Regions from separate parts of the Homo sapiens genome. Here region 1 is linked to region 2. Evidence: promoter capture Hi-C in human tissues and cell types (Jung and others, 2019). All regions are on one chromosome and are shown on one strand. Each heading gives the region's core, a stretch centred on a gene start or on the middle of the fragment in contact. The rest is flanking DNA. Distances are from core to core; before and after follow the strand shown. Region 1 overlaps ADK (adenosine kinase). Region 2 holds the start of CAMK2G (calcium/calmodulin dependent protein kinase II gamma).

What was found. The method cuts DNA at HindIII sites, captures the fragments that hold promoters and counts their contacts. A contact is called where the count stands out against the background at its distance.
Region 1: a fragment that was not itself captured here is called in contact with the fragment with the promoter of CAMK2G in region 2 in 3 of the 25 tissues and cell types used here (adrenal gland, lymphoblastoid cells and mesenchymal stem cells).

Annotation. Positions count from the first base shown.
Region 1 is chr10:74,205,946-74,209,646 of GRCh38, forward strand. All of the region lies in intron 2 of ADK (adenosine kinase), which reads left to right. Among named protein-coding and RNA genes, the nearest start is that of ADK, 57 kb to the left of the region's middle. RefSeq lists enhancers at 533-1,065, 1,066-1,596. The HindIII fragment of the contact is 5,622 bases long and covers 1-3,701 here.
Region 2 is chr10:73,872,623-73,876,523 of GRCh38, forward strand. CAMK2G (calcium/calmodulin dependent protein kinase II gamma) reads right to left here and starts at 1,933. Exons shown (of 23, transcript NM_001367534.1): 1 at 1,775-1,933; 2 at 367-461. The coding sequence starts at 1,839. RefSeq lists silencers at 1,326-1,385, 1,646-1,815, 1,876-2,035, 2,046-2,325 and an enhancer at 2,546-2,655. The HindIII fragment of the contact is 10,637 bases long and covers 1-3,901 here.

The DNA.
Region 1 (3,701 bases), core at 120-2,619, 330 kb after region 2:
TTAAATGTCTACAGTTTATTGTATGTCAGTTATATATCAAAGGCTGTAATAAACAGAAAATAAAATCAGTTGGACATGAATTCATGGGTTTAAAATTAGATCTCTTTTGTTTGTGTAGTGTGAGATATTTTGTTCAGGAAGTCAACTAATTCATGGTCACTATTTTAAAAAAATCATGATGTATAAAAGTAAAGAGCAACTTAAAAATTTGAAATTTTATCGTGTATTTCAAAAGTAAAATAAAGTATAGAGACAAACCCATAAATGTAGAACATTTTATATGGGAAGCAAGAATTGAAATTTGGGATATACACACAGACCAGGTGGTCTTTGCTATGTCTGAAGAAGAAAGATAAGATTGGAAGTTTTATAAAAAGGTGAAATGTTTTGTATTGTTTTGAAAGAAAGCTCATTGGCACTAGTTTTGGGGAGGTGGCAAGCTTTGATTGGTGAGTGACTGCAGTGAGTAGAACTAGTCTTTTAGAGTCACAGCTCATTGTTTCAGTAGCTACTGGATAAAACTGTTTTCAGATGACAACAGGCAGTTTCAGCAGCCAGGCTTGCAGAGAATTACCTTCTTGGAGCAATGTTATGTGTGCTGAGTGCTCTTCCCCCCAGCCTGTCACCTGTTTTAGTCAGATATGACAAGAATGACCCAATTTATATGATTAGCTTTCACACATATATAATCAGTGTTGTTATTTTGGTGAACATGCCTCCAGATGTTTGTTAGGCATATATAACCTGAAGATGAATGTTTATGGGCTAATACTATGTGTAGTCTTTGTTAGTATGCTGTTTTTCACTCAACATTATGTTTTTGGATCACTGTTTTTAAAATTTCAGGCAAATGTGATCAGAGTGATTATGACTTGGCAGCTGTGTGATGATGTCACAGGATCCTTAGGGTGTCGCTTTTCCAGCCAGAAGCCACTGTGGTTGGTGGAGCCTTTGCCTGAGGTTTGCTTGTGCCTGCCAGGCTTGTTCTGCTTGTTTGGCCTGGCAGGCTGCGTTCGGCTCATGCTACCAGCCTGGATCCCACACCTGCCAAGGGCGAGCCAGGTGCAGAGTGGCGTGGCAAAGAGTGTGTGAGCAAGCGAATATGGGATCTGGCCACTGTGTACAGCCACTCATGCTGGCTGCTGTGGTGGGGTGGGCATCTCCAGGCACTGGCACAGGTGCTGGCTTCATGCAAGCTTGCGGCTGGATCTGATGCATCTCAAGTGGCTTCCACTGTAGGAACCCACGTCTGGACGAGGATAATATGGTGGTGCCCAGAAGCTTGGAGACACCAGAAACCACAGAGCCCCAAAGAGAGTGTCACAGCCCTGGATTGGGAACCCCCTAGGTCTGGGCTCTCAGAAGGGCTGCAGCTCTTCTTTCCTTCTTGTTGCCTGCAAGGTGCTGAGTGGGGTGAGGCATATTTTAGCTCTGTTTGTGTTACAGCTGTTTCAGTCCTGCCACTTGGTGGGTCTTCTTATCCTGCATCCATGAACAGTGAGGTATGGGGACAACTGGAGGGTGAGCAAGGTGGAGAGGAGCTTCATTGAGCAACAGAACAGCTCTCAGGAGACCCGAAGTGGGTAGCTCCTTTCTGCAGGCAGGTCGTCCTGACAAGTGTTCACCTCTCAGTGAGATGAGACCCCGAGGGGGTAACTCCTTTCCACAGTTGGTAGTCCCAGGTCTCTTCTGTAAGTCTGGCTGAGTCCAGGGTTTTTAATGGGCTTCACAAGGGAGAAGTGTGTGCTGATTGGTCCATGGGCGGCTATGGGTGGGTCTGGAAAAAGCACCATGAGTCTCACTCCCCTCAGTGGACCCCACCTGGAACTGATAGCCTGGCCCCCATGCTTCAGGCTGTCCCTGGCTTGAAGGCAGGGCTTCACCTGAACCCACCCCTTTTTTCCCAGGAGAGTGTCTGCCTCCTGCTGCCATCAATCATGTTGTCCACAGTGTGCAGGCTGTTGGTGATGAGGGTACTTGCTGGCCCCATTGAGCTGCCCTCAGTCCCACCTTGGCCTCCTTCCCATGCTTCTCTGCACCTAAAGTCCAGAGGGGGCTGAGGGGGCAGGGGGCTGGTATGTCAGTGCTGCCCCGAGCACATGCACACCTGCTGGGTTGTGACAGTGCCTGGGCTTGGCCACGACTTTGCTCCACCCTGGAGCAGGTGCTGGGATCGAGGAGAGGCCAGGCATGGGAACAGGCACTTCTGAGTCTGCAGGGGAAAGGGGGACTTCCCGGGCCCCAGAGAGTGCAGGGATACCTGGGTCCACAGCCATGGCTGGGTGGCTGCAGCTGCACTCAGGAGGGTGGGGCTCCAGCCCTGCCAACTTGGAAGTGGGTGTGGCTCCCACCTGTTCCCAGCTCCCATGGGCTCTGTGGAGCATGCAGCCCTGGCTGCATCTCCCCAATTGTAGCCAGTGTCTTTGCAGCAGCTGCTCTAGACAGCCTGCTGCTGCCATCAATGACGCTGCTGGGAGCTCGAGTAACTTCTTTGTTTTACATGTTTTACTAGCAGCTGGTCCTAAGTGGCTAGCTGAAGTTCTATTTTATATTTGGAAGGTTTTAATCTTTAACTTTGATTTTCAAATAAGTACTTGAAGATAAAAAACAAGTCTTTGGACCCTAACAATAAAAGAGTCTTCTCTATTGTTACTCCTGGCTATTTCTTCCAAATATATTTAAAAACTTACCTTATGATATAAACGAATCGTGTTTAGCCTACATTTTGAGCCACCATTAGATAAGTATTTAGATAAGTACTATGTATATATATATTTTTTATTTTTTTATTTTTTTATTTTTTATTTTTGAGTTGGAGTCTTGCTCTGTCACCCAAGCTGCAGTGCAGTGGCGCAATCTCAGCTCACTGCAACCTCTGCCTCCCAGGTTCAAGCGATCCTCTTGCCTCAGCTTCCCGAGTAGCTGGAACTACAGGCATGTGCCACCATGCCCGGCTAATTTTTGCAGTTTTAGTAGAGACAGGGTTTCACCATGTTGGCCAGGGTGGTCTCGAACTCCTGACCTCTGGTGATCTGCCCACCTCGGTCTCCCAAAGTGCTGGGATTACAGGCATGAGCCACCGCACCCAGCATAGATAAGTGGTATATTGCTATGGTTTGAATGATGGTATCCTCTCCAAAAATTCATGTTGAAACTTATCCCCAGTGTAGCAGTATAAGAAGTGTGACTCTTGGGGGTTGACCAAGTTATGAAGGCTCTGCTCTTATGAATGGGGTTAGCACACTTGTGAAAGGACTCAAGGTTGAAGGGAGAGCTCTCCTGCCTTTACATTCCTTCTGTCATGTGAGGACACAGTGTTCCTCCCCTCTGGAGGATGCAGCAACAAGGTTCCATGTTAGAAGCAGAGAAAAGCCTCGCCAGACACCAATCTTGCTGGTGCCTTAACCGTGGATTTCCCAGCCTCCAGGAATGTGAGAAATATATTTCTATTGTTTACAAATTACCCCAAACAAAATAAGAAAAATAAAACAACAACAAAACATAAGTAAGTAAATAAATAAATAGCCTGGTCTGTGGTATTTTTGTTATAGCAGCACAAGGGGACCAAGACATATACCAAATGAATGAGATATATACTGATTAGTATCTTACACTGTGAAAGTGAGTTCTAATTGTCAAAATTCATTTGATAAAATATTTTTCTGATTCTGATTTTTTTTTTTTTAGAGACAAGTTTTTCT
Region 2 (3,901 bases), core at 683-3,182:
AAGGCCTGCAGTAGCCACCACTGCCCCAAAGGGAGAGGCTCCAAATGCCCCAAATTAAGAGCTCCCCATTCTGTACCACCCACTACCCCCATATCCTCCACCTCCCTGAAGACCGAACTCCCTTGAGCCTTTGGGGGCCACTGCAGCTACTTGCATCTCTTCCTTCATTCTTTTGTACCTGGGCGCTTCCAGTCCCCCATGCAACTCCTTTTCTGGCTTCAGCCTGACACAAAGTCCAACCAGTCTGAAATTCCAACTCCTCTCCAAGTGCTAAAACGCACAACCCCCAATTCCTGGGGCTTCCTCAAAAGAAACCATGGCCCCTGGAGGCACCCTCAGGAAGAGGTCAAGACAGGGAACACTCACCCCGGGCAGACAACTTCTTGGTATTGATGATTTTTGCTGCGTACTCCTGCGTGGAGGTTTTCTTCACACACCTGCGGACCACAGAGAAAGCACCCCTGGAGGGAGAAGGGGAAAAGAACTGGGACACGGAGCAGGGCAGAGTGACACAGACACACTTCAAGTCTGGGGACGATGATGCTCCCACCACCAGACCTCTAGTCACACTCACGTACATGCACACACACCGGCGCTGTGACCACCACCATCCAACATGAGGCAAAAGGACGCGGCCACCGCAGGACACTGAACAGATGTGGGTGGCGTGCCGCGCTCCCACCCCCTCATCCAGTCCCTGGGCAAGGCAACAGCCTCCACCTCAGGCTGCACATCAGGAGCGGGTGGGCGATGCTGAAAACACACACCTGCTGCATCTCAGACAGCCCTGCGGTCCCGGCCAAGAGAACCAGGGCAGAAGGGAGCAGAGAGACCCTGCCCTTCTCTCAGCAGGAACAGTTGAAGGTCGGGGAAGGAAAGATTAAAAAGAGGGTATCATCCCCTGAAAGAGAAATCTCCCTCAACCATGGGGCAAAGTGAGGCTCAAACCCCCCCACAGCCGGTTTCATCTCACTGCATCCCGGCTCAACTGACAGCAAGGGAAGAGAGGACACAGTCAGACATCAAGAACTCCCCTTCCCATGCTATTTTCCTTGACGTCCCCGTCAAACGGGAGCTCGCACTCTGAGCTCTGGAAACGTCTGGGGGGGCGGGCGGGGCGGGGGCTGCAGTGGCCGGGCTCGGCGCCGCGGGTGGGGGTGGGGGGCCGGGGCTGCTGCAGCGGCCAGCTCAGTGCGGAGGGGAGGGGGATGCTGAGGCTGCGGCGCGGCTCCCGGGACCACTGCAGGGGTGGGGGGAGGGGACGGGGGTGCCGCAGCACTGCCCAGCCGCGGGGCTGGGAGCCTGGAGCGGCACCCGCGGGGGGCGGGGCCGGGCGCCAAACAGCCCCCCCACGCCCGGGCTCCGCAGCAGAGCTAGGGCTGCAGGGCTGGGGAGGGTCCTGAGTGCGAGGCGCGTGGGACCTGGGTTCAGGGTGCGGAGTGAGCAACCGGGCAGCGTTGGGAGGTGGTCGGGAGGGGGGCGCCTGAAGGGTGCGGAGGGGCGGGGCTGGAGGGCACCCGGGAGCGGTCCGGGGTCTGCGGTGTCCGCGGCGGCGCGTGGGGAGCAGCGGCCCCGCCAGTTGCTGCAGGGCGCGGAGGGGGATGCGGGGCAGTGCGCGGGGGGCGCGGGGACCGAAGGCGGCGGGCGGGAAAGGCGGGGGTGGGGCGGCCGAGGGGGAGCCGCAGCGGCCGGTGCAGGGCCGGGGGGCGGGGCGAGAAGCCGCATAGCTCCCGGGCGGCAGGGCAGGCAGGGGACCGCGGCGGGCGGGCCGTACTTGCCAAGCTCCTCGAAGAGCTGGTAGTCGTCGGTGAAACGGGTGCAGGTGGCGGTGGTGGCCATGCTGGCGGGCGGGCGGACGCGGCGGTGCAGCCCGCGCCGACGTCGGTGCACAGTCACCGCCGCCCGGCCGAGGGAGCAAGAGGAGGAGACGGGGCTGAGCCCGGCAGCACCGCGAGACTTTACCGGGGAGAGCGAGGGAGGGAGGGACACCCCCGCGCCGCCCGCCCCGCCCCGCCCCCAGGCCCCGCCAGTCCCCCCCCCCGCCCGGCCCCCGGCCCGCCCCCGGGGAGGGGCCTCCCGCCGCCGGCCCCGCCCCGCCCCGGAGCCGCCCTCGCTGGGCCAGGCGCGCGGGGCAGCCGAGGGGAGGGGGTCCCCGCTCCGGGCCACCTGTCTGGGCAGACGGAGCTGGAAGGTTCGCGACTTATGGGCTTGTCCCGGGGCGGACCCCGCGCGGGCTCGGGAACGTGCATGCGAGGGTGCATGTGTTAGGAGTGTAGGAGTCTGGACCACTGACCTCTCTGGACGGGTCCTACACGCGGGTCCCGAGCCCCCAACCGGGCTCCTAGCACGTGGGGAGAGAGCCAAGGTCAAGGAGCCTGTGCCAGGCTGCACGCCCGGGAGGCGCCCCCAGCCTGCGCAGAGCCAGCTGCCAGCCGCCTTCCCTCTGGGAGCTGACAGTCTAGACTTGCGCAAGCACCAGGGCCATTATTAGAAAGAAACCCTTCAGGCGCGGGTTGATCAGGGAGACCAGGCCAGGGGCAAGGATACAGGTAGGACTCTGCCTTCCTGCACCATAACTGCAGAGATGAAAGAGTATTCTCTATCCGGCCAGAAATGAAAGGGGTGAAGTAGGAAGACTTGAAAAGGCTTTGTGCAGTGGGGGCTAGAAGAGAAAGTGGAAGAAAGGGGAAATCCCCATTTTCTTGCAAGGCACCCTCGTACTTTTATTTTCTGGCACCTACCACATTTTGTAGTGATGCATTGACTGGTATAAGGGGCAGTAGAGCTATCTCATAGCTGTCTAAGCGTGAACTTGCATCAAACTGCCTGGATTGGATTTCTAGGCAACTCACTGATCAGCTCTGTGACCTGGGGTAAGTCACTGAATCTTTTTTTTGAGACGGAGTCTTGCGCTGTTGCCCGGGCTGGAGTGCAGTGGTGCGATCTTGGCTCACTGCAGCCTCCACCTCCTGGGTTCAAGCGATTCTCCTGCCTCAGCCTCCCGAGTAGCTGGGATTATGGGCGCGCGCCACCACGCTCGGCTAATTTTTTTGTATTTTTAGTACAGACGGGGCTTCATTATGTTGTAGTAATGAAGTATGTATGTAGTACATACATGAAGTAATGAAGTATGTATGTAGTACAGAGGTGGCTTCATGAGCCACCTCGCCCGGCTGGGAACAATAATATTACCTACCTCATAGGCCTGTCAGCATTAAATGGTCTAAGGCACTTAGAATAGTACTTGGTGCCTAATTAGAACTACATTTGCTGGGCCGGGCGTGGTGGCTCATACCTGTAATCCCAGCACTTTGGGAGGCTGAGGCGGGTGGATCATGAGGTCAGGAGTTCGAGACCAGCCTGGCCAACATGGTGAAATCCTGTCTCTACTAAAAATACAAAAACTAGCTTCCCGCTGAATTGTAGGCTCCAATAAAGCGGGGCCTCTGCACCTTTTGTTCACCATTGTACACTCAGCCCCTGACCCTCAGTAAATATTTGTGGGATGGCAGAGGGAGATACCATCCCTTCTCCTGTCCCCACCATCACAAGTTGGTGGGACAGAGGCACATAACTGTCTTGATGGGGGACAAACAGGCTGGGCAGGTTCCTGACCTGCCTGGGCAGCTGTCCCCTGAGGCTGAGGCCAGCCCCAACTGGGCAGGGTGGAGCTCAGCCAGAGGCTGCCACTCAGTCTTGATTACAGCAGGACGCCCACTGGGAGTCGGGTCTCCCTCGCCAGCAGGCTCGCTCTGCCAGAGGAGGGGGCTGAGAGGTGTCCCAGCCTCCCAAGCTGCCTCCCTGAGGGGTGGGTGGGGCAGAGCTCTCCAGGAGTGCTCCCCTCCTGTCCTGACCCAACAGCCCTGAGAGCTGCTTTGGGAACCAGACTGCCCAGTAGGGG